Regions from separate parts of the Homo sapiens genome. Here regions 2, 3, 4 and 5 are each linked to region 1. Evidence: promoter capture Hi-C in 16 types of primary human blood cells and fetal thymus (Javierre and others, 2016). All regions are on one chromosome and are shown on one strand. Each heading gives the region's core, a stretch centred on a gene start or on the middle of the fragment in contact. The rest is flanking DNA. Distances are from core to core; before and after follow the strand shown.

Region 1 (2,615 bases), core at 1-2,500:
TTTTATTTTCCTTCCTTCCTTCCTTCCTTCCTTCCTTCCTTCCTTCCTTCCTTCCTTCCTTCCTTCCTCCCTCCCTCCCTCCCTCCCTCCCTTTCTTTCCAGATTCTGGACCTATTCCAGACTTACTAAAGGAAATTCTCTAAAGGTGAGGCAGTTTTTTAAAGACAGCAGCTCTCTCTGTCGTCCATGCTGGAGTGCAGTGGCCCGATCATAGCTCACTGCAGCCTCGACTTCTTGGGCTCAAGTGATCCTCCCCCTTCAGCCTCAATGAGTAGCTGGGACTACCGATGTGCACTACCACGCCCGGCAAACTAAAAAAATAATTATTTTTGGTAAAGACAGGGGTCTTGCGATGTTGCCCAGGCTGTTCTCAAACTCCTGGCCTCAAGTGATCCTCCTGCCTCAGCCTCCTAATGTGTTTGGATTACAGGCATGAGCCACTGAGCCCGGCCTAGCTACCCTGTCTGAGTTGTGCCCACTACACAAAGGTGTCAGCTACATGTGATGTCTGTGCATTTCTGGCCTGGACCGCACATTAAGTGCTCCGTAAACATCAGTCTCTATTATCAACAGTCTCTATTATCAATCAGTCTCTATTATCATCAGTCTCTATTATCATGAGTCTCTATTAAACAACAGTCTCTATTATCACAGTCTCTATTATGTGTTTTGGCTGAAAGAAAGTTCTCTAAAACCAGGAAATCAGGAATCAGCAGTTTTAAGTTCTCCAGGTTATATTTTAACATTGTGTTCATATGCAAAACAAAGGTTGTGAATCAGCACGAATGCTGGCAAGCCCTGGAAGGTTTGTGATCACGGACTTTCACGAGACCCCAAGGCAAGGAGAGACAGAAGCCCAGGACAACAGCATGGGCGCCGCTTTTTAGTCGGGCGCCGCTTTTTGGTCAGGCGCCACCTGGACTACATTTCCCATATCCAATTGCCGGGCTCCTGCAGGATTGGCCAGAACAACGCGGAAGTGATTACGGGTCGCCCAGCAACGGGCGGAGTCCTGGCCCGAAACTGGATGCGCACGCCCCTTCCCTGCGGCGGGGAGGCTGACAAGGCTCCGCTCTATCTCTAGCGCCTCGGAGCGCTCTCCGGCTTTGCTGTCTAGCCCGGCGGCAGCGCGATCTCTTAGGCACTTTCACCGCCTTCCTCTCCAGGCCCTGCCCCTTTGACGCCGGCCGTCGCGATATTGCGGAGACTGGATTTCAGCTTCGTGGTCGGCGGAGCGGCCCCTGGAGGGCGCAGTGCGCAGGCGTGAGCGGTCGGGCCCCGACGCGCGCGGGTCTCGTTTGGAGCGGGAGTGAGTTCCTGAGCGAGTGGACCCGGCAGCGGGCGATAGGGGGGCCAGGTGCCTCCACAGTCAGCCATGGCAGCGCTGCGCTACGCGGGGCTGGACGACACGGACAGTGAGGACGAGCTGCCTCCGGGCTGGGAGGAGAGAACCACCAAGGACGGCTGGGTTTACTACGCCAAGTAAGGGGGCCGCAGTGGGGCCGCGGACGCACCTGGGACCCTGCACAGCCCACGGACGCCACCTGCGCGGGGAGGACGCGCACTCCAGCGCAGCGCGTGCGGTGCAAAGTGAAAGTAACTGTTAAGGAGCTTCAGGGAAAAGGGTCCAGGGTTCCCAGTAGGGGCCGGCCCCCTTGGTGGGCCTCGGGTCCAGCGGGGGTCACCTGGTGGCTTCCCGGCGCGCCCTCTGCTGTTCAGGATGCAGCACTGCGCGGCGCGGCGAGGGCAAAGCGGCCTCATCCCCGCCAAAAAATAAAGATGTTTTAAAAAGCGCACATGCTCAGCTCCCTCCTGCAGGCTCTGGGTTGCAGGGATAGGAGTTTTGTTGTGTTTTGTTTTGTTTTGTCCAGACCGGTATTGCTCAGTCATCCAGGCTGGAGTGCAGGGGTGCCATCATAGCCCACTGTAGCCTCTACCTACTGGGTTCAGACAATCCTCTCATCTCAGCCTCTTGAGTGGCTGGGACTACAAGCGTGCACTACTATGCCCGACTAATTTTTTAAGTATTTGTAGAGACTAGGGTCGCACCATGTTGCCCAGGCTGGTCTCGAACTACTGGGCTCAAGCAGGCCACCTGCCTCAGCCTCCAGAATTGAGATTACAGGCGTGAGCCACTGCGCCTAGCCAGGAGTATTTTTTAGTAGCAGTCCTAGATAGCTTCACTATCATTTCCTGGGAAAGTTTTGGAAACCCCAGCAGAGCCTTCATCTTTAACTGTGTGACCTTGGGCCATTGAAATAACGTTTAATCTTGGTTTTTTCACCTGTAAAATGGGTTGATACGAGGGTCAGTTCAGGCACTGTGCGTAAAGCACATAGCACCGTGTCTAGTAGGTACTCTCTGTTCCTTAACTGTCGTTCCTTGATTGCTCTTAAGATACGACAGTGCCTCTTATATCGGCACCTTAGAATCACCTAGGAAATGTCCTAAATACACGTTTTGGGTCTCCATAGAGAACCTACTGTAGCCGACTCTCAACTTTGGGAGTCTCTTTTTTTAAGCTTTCCAGGTGAGGTGGAATATCACCTGGTTTTGAGAAACATGGATGTAAATCTGATTTTCAGCATCTGGGAAACTTTTTTTGTAAGAGCCTT
Region 2 (2,615 bases), core at 40-2,539, 2.5 Mb before region 1:
TCCTTAACGTGTTTGGGGAGGTAATCTTCTTTCATAACATCTGCAACTTCTACAGAGCCTTGGTGACTCTGTGTTTTGTACTTCCTGGAGGTGTTGGCTTAGTGGGAGAAAATAAGTGACTAGGACCTATGGCATTGAGTTTATTTTCCTCAATTCTGATTCTCTGGTTCTTCTCAAAGGAAATGAAGCAGGCTTCTGGAGACCTTAAGATTACTCAGATGGCTCCACAGTAATCTAGCAATTAAAATGGCTACAGGTCTTATCAACTTCCCCTCCCCCGTTATCCCTGAGATAGAAATAGAATTGGAAATGAAAAATGATTTTTCAGGGCAGCAGAGACTGTTTCAAGCCATTTTCTCTCCAAGTCCCATTTGCCTTTCCAGTGTGGTGAGAATCAACCCTAAAGCAGATTACACTGGTAACTCAAGTCAGGATTTTAGGGCCGAGTAGCCAGAAATCCAGCTCCTGACCCTTCAGGATTTAGAGTCACCAGCTAGGGCCCTTTTGCCCAGGCTGTCAGCTCTTTGGCCCCAGTTAATGACTTATCACCCTACACTTAATGCAACTGTTTATTTTGGGGTTTTATTCTCAGAAGTAATTTTTTTTTTGAGACAGAGTCTCACTCTGTTGCCCAGATTGCAGTGCAGTGGTGCAATCTGAGCTCACTACAATCTCTGCCTCCTAGGTTCAAGTGATCCTCTCACCTCAGCCTCCCTAATAACTGGGACAGGACCACAGGTGCATGTCACCACACCGGGCTAAAAATATAAATTTGTTTCTAAACATAAGAGGCGTGTGACATCATTGGGCTTTATGCAATATATAAATCACCCATAAACATAAAAAGTGCTACAGGGTCCTTCCTAAAGCTGGCTGTGATTCAGCTTCACCATCTCTTCCCCAAGACAATTTAGCAGCCTCTTCCTCAGGTCTTTTCAGCTTCCTTAGGGGAGCATGGAGCCTCCCTTAACCTTCATGCAGTGCTTGCTGGCTTCAAAGAGTGGCTGGGGAAATTAGAGAAGGGACGAATTCAGGCCTGCAGGAGCCCTCCCTCTCCGGTGACTGACTGGTCTGCATGAAGATCAATTATGTCTGAGGCTGAAGGGGAGTGAGTTCTCAGTTATTTCTGCCTTGGAGTGGAAAACAGGCGGTCACCATGTAAAGTGTCATGATTTTTATTTAGAGTAGTTAGTATTAAATATTGATTCTATAAATAGAGACAGAGGCAAGTCCCTAAGTTTTACTTCCTAAATTCTAAGTTCTTGTTTCATTTAAAAAAGAGGGAATCACAATGGCCTTTTCCCATTTAGCATTGGAAAGTTGAATTCTCTGCCTAGGTGCCAGCATCAAGAATCAGGCCAAAAACGGAATGGGGAACCATGCCTTTGTTCAGACAGAACTTCAGAAAAAACATCAGTGTACAAGTTTCCTAGTCATGACGTTAGAGGGGAACTCAGACCTGGCAGTGAATGGTCTTTGGTCTTTGTTTGTTTAGAACATAGATAAGAGTCTTGTTAATCCCCTGTTTAAAATAGAAACAGGAGTATATCATTAAATATAATATCTCTAAGATATTATTTTTTATTGTTGTTGAGACAAGGTCTTGCTCTGTCACCCTGGCTGGAGTGCAGTGGCACAGTCATAGCTCACTGCAGCCTTGAACTCCTGGGCTTGAGAAGTCCTCCTACCTCACCAGGTTGGTCTCAAACTCCTGGCTACAGGTGATCCTCCTGCTTTGGCCTCCCAGAGTGCTGGGATTATGGGTGTTACCCACCATGCCTGGCCAGATATTATAACTGACATTGGGAAACCTGTGCTGTTTAAGAATATGGTGTTTATTTGCTTCTGGATCTTAAAGAGATCTTCAGTAAAAGGAAGTTGTGATGTTTTGGAAATGAAAAGTGATTTTCAGGGCAACAGAGACTGCTTCAAGGCCATTTTCTCTCCAAGTCCCATTTGCCTTTCCATTCTGCTGAGAATCCACCCTAAAGCAGATTATACCAGTAACCCAAGTCAGGATTTTAGGACAGAGTAACCAGAAATCCAATTCCTGACCCTTCAGGCCCAATTAATGACTTCTCACCCCACACTTAATCATCCTTTATTTAGAAATGTGCTTAAAGCACTTTGATCATTTCTGGGTAAATACCTCTTTAAGGACAGGACTTTTTTTTTTTTTTTGGAGACGGAGTTTCACTCATGTCGCCCAGGCTAGAGTGCCCAGGCAGTGGCGCGATCTCAGCTCACTGCAACCTCTGCCTCCCAGCTTCAAGCGATTCTCCTGCCTCTGCCCCCTAGTAGCTGGGATTACAGGCGACTGCCACCACGCCCGGCTACTTTTTTTGTATTTTTAGTAGAGACGGGTTTTACCATGTTGGCCAGGCTGGTCTCTTAACTCCTGACCTCAGGTGATTCGCCGACCTTGGCCTCCCAAAGTGCTGGGATTACAGGCGTGAGCCACTGCTCCCGGCCTAGTTGTTCTTTTTATCAGATAAATATGTTCTGTCCTAGGCCGTGTGTGGTGGCGGTCGCCGGTAATCCCAGCTACTCGGGGGCTGAGGCAGGAGAATCGCTTGAAGCTGGGAGGAGGAGGTTGTGGTGAGCCAAGATCACGC
Region 3 (2,615 bases), core at 49-2,548, 2.4 Mb after region 1:
GAAGAACGTCGAAAGACAAGACTGGTTTAGTCTTCTGGCCTACATCTTTCTCCCATGCTGGATGCTTCCTGCCCTCGAACTTCAGACTCTAGTTCTTCAGCTTTGGGACTCCAACTGGCTGCCTTACTCCTCAGCTTGCAGACGGCCTATTGTGGGACCTCAACTTGGGATGATGTGACTCAATACTCCTTAATTAACTCCCCTTTATATATACATCTAACCTATTAGTTCTGTCCCTCTAGAGAACCCTGACTAATACAGGGAACTTTTAAATATGAACTCAATTTATTTTGCTTTTCTTTTCCAAGTTTCTTGAAGTGAGAGTTCAGATTAAGACTTTTCATATTTTCTAATGAGAGCACGTATAATTTTTCCCTCTAACTGCTTTAGTTGGGTTCCACAAATTTGATACATCTTATTTCATTGTCTTTCAGTTCACTGTATTTAAAAAATTTCTCTTGAGACTGCCTCTTTCAACTAGAATTATTTAGAAATGTGTTGGTTAGTTTTCAGGTGTTTGCAGATATTCCTATTATCTTTCTGTTATTGATTTCTATCTTGAATCCACTGTAGTCTGAGAACACACTCTGTATAATTTCCATTCTTTTAAATTTGTTAAGGTTTGTCTTACAGTCCAGGATGTGGCCTATCTTGTTGTATATGTTCTTTGGGCACTTGAAAAGGATACGTCTTCTACTGACGTTGGTGGGAGTGTTCTATAAATGTCAATTAAATTCTGTTGGTTGATGATATTAGTTCTCTATCCTTGGTGATTTTTCTGTCTGGTTTTTCTATCAATTGTTGACAGAGGGATGTTGAATTCAACTATCATTGAGGAAGTGTCTGTTTCTTCTTTCAACTCTATCACCTTTTGCTTTAAATATTTTGCAGCTCTATCGTTTTGTGCATACATTTTAATTTTTAGGTTTGCTATGTCTTCTTGGTGGACTGATCATCTTATCAATGTATAATGGTTCTCTCTGTCTCTGGTAATTTTCTTTCCTCTGAAGTCTATTTATCTGGTATTTATGTAGTCACTCACTTTCTTTGGATTAATGTTTACACAACATTTTTTTCATCTTGTTATTTTCTGCCTGCCAATATTATTATATTTTTAAATGAGTTTCATGTAGATGATATATAGTTCAGTCATGCTTGTTCTAATGCTCTCTGATGACCTCTGTCTTTGTATTGGTGTATTTAGACTATTTATACTTAATGTTATTGTTAACAGGCTAGGGTGTGGTGGAAGTGGCAGAATGGGTTCCCACATTATCTTTACTGAAGCTGCTGGGGGAGAGGGCAACTAGTTAACACCCAACAGGGACGAAAGTCCCAACTCCCTACTCATTCTTCTCTGGCAATACTATCACAGAGGATGGAGGGAATGATGGCAATATGAGAGTGGAAATCTATATTCTCCTCTTGGGCTTTGATGGTTTTTTTCTGTGGTGTTTGGCTGGAGTCGAGTGGTTGTTTTCTGAGAGTTTCCATCTTTTTAGGCTGGATGTTTGTTGATCCTTTGGGTAGAAAAGGTAGGCTTTCATTGGGACTTTTAAAATCTTTCTGTGCCTGTTGACATTTCTGGTCTGCCAGCTCCTTGTGCAAGATATCCTAGTCTAGGATATATGTGACAAAAAGAAATCTCAAGTAACTTATGAGCGTGTCATTCCTTGGATCCCAAGGTCCCTAGCCAATCTGTCTGGTTATCTCAATCTCTTCTGTTTGTATATATAATCTTCAGAGTTATTAGGTATAATTAGGGGAAACAATAGGCAGAAGCATGTCTACTTCATCTTTACAGAAACAGAAATCACTGATCATTTTTGGTTTCTTAATTCATGCTGACAATCTCTATCTTTTAATGAGTCTGCTTATGTGATATATATGTAATTATTGATGTATCAGGATTTGATTGTTCCATCTATTTACCATTCTACTGTTTGCCCTTTTCCCTTTTGGGTTGCCCAAACAATTTTTCATATGATAATTTATCTACTTCACCTTTTTACTGTATCAGTTTGTAATTTTTCTTATTGATTGCCCAAGAGATTATATAGCTCATTTGTCACAATCTACTTAAAACCAATACCTGACCACTTCAATTGAAATGTAGGAAACTTACCCTTAGATTAGTCTCTTTACCCTCCCTTTACTTGTAGTTACCTTACATATTACATTTACATTCTTTCAAAACCCCCAAAAATGCTATAACCTTTTTCAACCATCAAACACATTTTAGAGAATTCAAGCGAGTAACAGTCTATTACAGGATTCAGCAAACTTTTTCTGCTAAGGGCCAGATAATAAATATTTTAGGCTTTGCAGACCATACAGTGTCTGTCACAACTATTCAACTCTGTGCTTATAGAACGAAAACAGCCAAAACAACACATAGCCAAATGAGCATAACTGTGTTCCAATTAAATTATATTAATCAAAATAGATGGTGAGCTGAATTTGGTACATGGGCTATAGTTTGCTGACCGCTAGTGTATTATACTTACATTTTTAGTTTCTTCTTCCTTCATTTCTAATGTTGTATGTTTCCCTCTCATATCATTTCACTTCTGTCTTAAGAACTTCATTTAATGTTTTTTTAAGTGCATGTTTGC
Region 4 (2,615 bases), core at 30-2,529, 2.4 Mb after region 1:
TAGTAGAGACGGGGTTTCACCATGTTAGCCAGGATGGTCTCGATCTCCTGACCTCGTGATCTGCCTGCCTCAGCCTCCCAAAGTGCTGGGATTACAGGCGTGAGCCACCGTGCCCGGCCCAGAATTGTATTTTAAAATGAATAATGCCACTTCCAGGTTCATCCCAGAGGCCAAGAAGAGAAATGTGCAAAAATGTCGTTGGTATTTTAGAAATATTGAAAGCTTGGAGACAACCTAGATGTACATGAACAGGGGAAAGGGTAAAGCAGTGGTGTATTAATGAGAGTTCATCAGAGAAACAGAACCAATAGAACCTATATATAGTGTGTATATATGTACACACAAAATATATGTGTGTGTGTGTATATATAGATATACATATACAGTATATATTTATATTTGTATATATACAATATGCATATATATATATATATATATATATATATATATAGTGTGTGTGTGTGTATAGGGTGGGAAGTATTTATTATAAGGAATTGGTTCATGCAATTATAGACACTGACAAGTCCCAAGATCTGCAGTTATCACACTAGAGGACCAGGAAAGCCAAGGGTTTAGTTCCAGTCCCAGTCCTAAGGCCTAAGAACGAGGAGCTGATAGCGTATTTCCAGTCCAAACATCAGCAGGCTCAAAACCCAATGTTTCAGTTCAAGAGCCCAGGCTTCCGTTCAAGCCAAAGGCAGGAAAACACTGATGTCCCAGCTTCATGCAGTCAGGCAGGAGGACATTTTCTCAGCTATTTTGTTCTATTCAGGCCTTCAACTGATTGGATGAGGCCCACCCACATTGGGGCAACCTGCTTTACTCAGTCTATCAATGTAAATGTTCAACTCATCCAAAAACACCCTCCCGGAAGCATCCAGAATAATGCTGACCAAATGTCAAACCCCGTGGCCCAATTAAGTTGACACATACAATTAACCATCACAAATGGATTCATTCATGCAGAGGAAGACCATGCAGCCATTTTTTTAATGCAATAAATGCATATATTCTGATCCAGGAGAATGTCCACAATGTGTTATCTGTTTAAAACAAATGTCAACTTGCAGAAGAGTATGTATACTATGGTCCCACACGCATAAAAGAGAAAGTAAACTATATGAAACAACATATACATATGCACTTTTAAAGAATGTGTGTATAAACACAGAAAAATTCTAGAAGGATACACAGCAGACTCAGTGGTTTTCTATCCCCTCCTCCTCCCACACAGAGTACGGGGTATGTGTGCCTTACTGGAGACTTTCGTTTTTTATGTAAATCACTGAAATGTGCTAGGTGCTTGCTAAATGCTCAGCACCAGGCTAGCAAGCTACATGCACACTGTCAATTAATACGCATCACAATCCCATAAAAATGCTTCCTCTGTCTTACAGGGGACACAGAACTAAGGCCTAGGGAGGGTGAATAACTGTCTCAAGTTCACTAGCTTAGGATACCACGGAGCCACTCCTCCATGACAGGTCTGTCTGACCCATGACAGAGTACTGCCCATAATGTACTGTCTCTACAAAGAGACAGTTTTCATGTTAAAAATAAATATGTTCATTATATATTTTATTCTTTAACATAGAATATATATGTATGTATATATGTTTATAGTTGATGTACCTATATTACCCCTATTTTTTTTTAAGATACATTTTCTTTTTTTTTTTTTTTTTTTTTTAGAGTCAGAGTCTCATTCTGTCACCCAGGCTGGAGCACGGTGGCGCGATCTCGGCTCCCTGCAACCTCCGCCTCCTGAGCTCAAGCGATTCTCCTGCCTCAGCCTCCCGAGTAGCTGAGATTACAGGCATGCACCACAATGCCTGGCTAATTTTTGTATTTTTAGTAGAGATGGGGTTTCACCACATTGGCCAAGCTGGTCTCAAACTCCCATCCTCAGATGATCCACCCGCCTCAGCCTCCCAAAGTGCTGGGATTACAGGCGTGAGCCACTGCGCCCAGCCAAAAGAATACATTTTCATACTTACTCCAAAACAATAAAAATAGATAAGATCTGGGAAAGGAGAAAGCAAAAGCAAATTAACTCGGGGGAAATTTTTTTTAACTGTTTTATTTTGCGTCTCCCCAGAAGCAGAGCCTAAGTACAAGGACTTAGATGCATGATTTGCTTGTTTGGGAGATGATCCAGAGAAGGAGGAAAAGCCGAGATAAGGAAACACACAGGCTCACTGCTGCAGACACCAGGGTTTGATTCTTCTGGGATCTCTGAACAGTAGGTAAAGGAGGAAAAGCTGGGTACTTTTCCACTGGCTTCCATCCCGCCTTTGTGAAGGGTTAGCCCCAGGGGGGTTAACTCCCCAGGAGAGAAAGCTTGATGTGGGATTCTGTCATTTGAGGTGTGTCTCACCTGAAGTTGAAAGAGAATTAGATCAAGGAGATGCAAGACAAGGAGCCAAAGAACTCTGTTACATATACCACTTAAAAAATCACCTGAAGGATCGCTTGAACCCAGGAGTTCAAGGCTGCAGTGAGCCGTGATTTTGCCACTACACTCCAGCCTGGGCAACAGAGTGAGACCCTGTCTTAAAAGAAAAAGAAAAGAAAAAAAGGCAAAAGAAAATCACCTGAAAGGGGATCTATAGATC
Region 5 (2,615 bases), core at 85-2,584, 2.4 Mb after region 1:
GTCTCGCTGCTGTGGAATGATATCCTGGGATGCAGAGTTGCCAATGTGTACCTATTCATTTGCACTGAGAGAGAGGCACACCTCATGTCAGGACCCTCACAGATCCAAATGGTTTAGGGAAGCAGATTCTGAATCAAACCAAGCTCCTCTGCACAACCAGCCACCACCACTTGGCCATACCTGTAGCTGTGGAGTCAGGACTCTCTTTGGAGTCTTACAAAGGGAGAACAAATTGAATAAAGATTAAGGAGTATGAGCAGTGATAGGGTTTGCCTCTGTGTCTCCGCCCAAATCTCACCTCAAATTGTAATCCCCACTTATCAAGGGAGGGACCTGGTGGGAAGTGATTGGCTCGTGGGGGGCAGTTTCCCCCATGCTGTTCTCATGACACAGAGTGAGTTCTCATGAGATCTGACGGTTTAAAAGTGAGACACTTCTTTATTCTCTCTCTCCTGCCGCCATGTGAATAAGGTGTTTGCTTCCCCTTCACCTTCCACCATGATTGTAAGTTTCCTGAGGCCTCCCCAGCCATGCAGAACTAAGTCAAACCTCTTTCCTTTATAAATTACCCCATCTCAAGTGGTTCTTTATAGCAGTTTGGAAACAGACTAATACAAGCAGTATTCTTGCCCACCCCTAAATGTACAAGTGTCCCAGGGCAGCACTCAGGCACCTGTTTTAAGAACCACCTGACCCATCTCTGCACCCAGCTATGCTGACTTGGGAGGCAGGAACAAGCCCAAATCCTGGCTGGTCCTCATGACTTTGATCCTTCAAAGCTTGCATTTAAGAAAAAAAGAAAGAAAACATGGAAAGGCAGTTAGGTTTCCATTTTCCGTTGTGCCTGATGTAGTGTTCATGCAGCAAGGAACAGACAGTTTAAGGGACCTTGTCCGGTTTCCAAAGAATTCCCAGATGCAAATTTCCCAGGAGCAAGCAAACGTGGTCTTTACTTTCTGTAGCTGCTAACTTATGAAGGAATGCATGCTCTTCAAAAAATATTTTGTAAAGATGTTCTTATTTTTTCCAAAGCCATTGACTTACAACTGGCATCTGTAGGCTACCAAAAGTAATTATAATAAATGAAGAGAAACTAGAGAAATGTTGCACAGGAAAGGGGAAATAAAAAGGAAATTTTATATACACGTACAAATGCATGTAGATGCGTGTATGTACATATGTAAATTCATTTTGTTTTCAAATTTAATGTCAAAACAGCTATAATTGCTCATTCTCCTTGTGTCAGGGGAGGAGGGATCATGTGCTCAGATGTCACCAAATGCTTCTTAAGTTCTCAACTACAAAGGACATTTTCCCTGCTCAATTTCATTATGGGAACATAACTTTACTGTCACCAACCATACAGGGAAAATCAGGTAACAAAAGAAGGAAGGATTGTGTCATTGTTGTTGCTGCTGCCGTATACAAAATATACAGTGATCGCAGAAAACCTCAAAAATATACACTCGTGAGAAAGACAACACAGAATCCTGCCACCCAGATGACTGCTGTTCACATGCTTGGTGTACACCCTTCAAGATTTCCCCCCTGCACCCAGGCACACACCTATACATTATAAACACATATACACATATGTGTGCATGTAGACATTCACATGGGCATAAGTACTATTGTCCCTGACACTTTTTTCTTCAGAATTGTGGCACAGATTGGAGGACCCCTAGGACACAGACAGGGCATCACCACCCACTGATGGTAACTGTGAAATATCTAGAACAGGGGCCCTCACAAGTTTTTCTGTAAAAGGGCAGATGATAATTATTTTACGCTTTGCAGGCCAGAGGGTCACAACTACTCAATGCTGCTATTATACCTGGAAAAGCAACCATCGATAATACGTGAGCAAATAGCTGTGGTTGTGTTCCGATAAAGCTTTATTTACAGAGCAGGAGGCGGGCTGGTGGCCCAAGAATAGTTTGCCACTCCCTGGTTTAGAACATACCATAAACCAAAAAGAGTCAAGAGAGCAGGAGACAGATTGAAGTGCATCCCTCACTGAAGAGCAAATTTCTTTTCCGTGGTCTGTGCTAGTCTCTTGCAGCAACCGTTTCTGCTTTAATGTGCATCCTCTGATACAATAATGACTATAGATAATTAGATTAAGTGAAGTTCACCCTTGTCCCAAAACAAGCTTTTTGAGACAGCAATTTCACTCCCTTTTTCTAGCTCCAGTTTCAGGGAGGGAGCCAGAACAGAAGTCACACTGACATGTCACAGGAATGCAGCAAGGTGAGGCCAGGGTGGCGTTCACTCATGTAAAACACCCTGGATCACACACCATCAGTAAATGATTTATTAAAAGCTACAAGATAAACACCGATAAAGTCTTCAGATACAGAGGCCCATGACATCTGCACAGGATGAGAGAATCAGAATGATTAATAGGGAAGGAGACAGGCTGGAAATACAGAAGACCTGCACCACCTGTGGGGAAGATCCTGGAGAACACATTTCCCACCTGCAAACAGCCTTCCAACCTCAGGCAATAAAATACACCTCTAATAACAAAAGCCATTTTGCACTATTTTCCCCCCTAGGTTTTGAGATGTAGCTCCTAAGTCCTTCATAGTGTTCAGATCCGTACCGACACAGCC

What was found. Contacts are between HindIII fragments. The CHiCAGO score rates a contact against its expected background, and 5 or more counts as called.
Region 2: a fragment that was not itself captured here is called in contact with the fragment with the promoter of WWOX in region 1 in 1 of 17 cell types (naive CD8 T cells); the score reaches 5.0 in naive CD8 T cells.
Region 3: a fragment that was not itself captured here is called in contact with the fragment with the promoter of WWOX in region 1 in 13 of 17 cell types (activated CD4 T cells, non-activated CD4 T cells, total B cells and 10 more); the score reaches 42.8 in activated CD4 T cells.
Region 4: a fragment that was not itself captured here is called in contact with the fragment with the promoter of WWOX in region 1 in 6 of 17 cell types (total CD4 T cells, naive CD8 T cells, activated CD4 T cells and 3 more); the score reaches 10.0 in total CD4 T cells.
Region 5: a fragment that was not itself captured here is called in contact with the fragment with the promoter of WWOX in region 1 in 6 of 17 cell types (endothelial precursors, naive B cells, total B cells and 3 more); the score reaches 8.2 in endothelial precursors.

The regions. Positions count from the first base shown.
Region 1 is chr16:78,098,404-78,101,018 of GRCh38, forward strand. It overlaps WWOX (WW domain containing oxidoreductase), which reads left to right and starts at 1,251. Exons shown (of 9, transcript NM_016373.4): 1 at 1,251-1,482. The coding sequence starts at 1,376. RefSeq lists an enhancer at 1,485-1,984. The HindIII fragment of the contact is 3,217 bases long and covers 1-2,520 here.
Region 2 is chr16:75,569,506-75,572,120 of GRCh38, forward strand. All of the region lies in intron 3 of GABARAPL2 (GABA type A receptor associated protein like 2), which reads left to right. Among named protein-coding and RNA genes, the nearest start is that of GABARAPL2, 4.4 kb to the left of the region's middle. The HindIII fragment of the contact is 6,021 bases long and covers 1-2,615 here.
Region 3 is chr16:80,531,230-80,533,844 of GRCh38, forward strand. The region is part of intron 1 of DYNLRB2-AS1 (DYNLRB2 antisense RNA 1); the gene reads right to left. Among named protein-coding and RNA genes, the nearest start is that of DYNLRB2, 8.5 kb to the right of the region's middle. The HindIII fragment of the contact is 6,624 bases long and covers 1-2,615 here.
Region 4 is chr16:80,511,229-80,513,843 of GRCh38, forward strand. The region is part of intron 2 of DYNLRB2-AS1 (DYNLRB2 antisense RNA 1); the gene reads right to left. Among named protein-coding and RNA genes, the nearest start is that of DYNLRB2, 28 kb to the right of the region's middle. The HindIII fragment of the contact is 2,118 bases long and covers 221-2,338 here.
Region 5 is chr16:80,461,207-80,463,821 of GRCh38, forward strand. All of the region lies in intron 2 of DYNLRB2-AS1 (DYNLRB2 antisense RNA 1), which reads right to left. Among named protein-coding and RNA genes, the nearest start is that of DYNLRB2, 78 kb to the right of the region's middle. The HindIII fragment of the contact is 1,114 bases long and covers 778-1,891 here.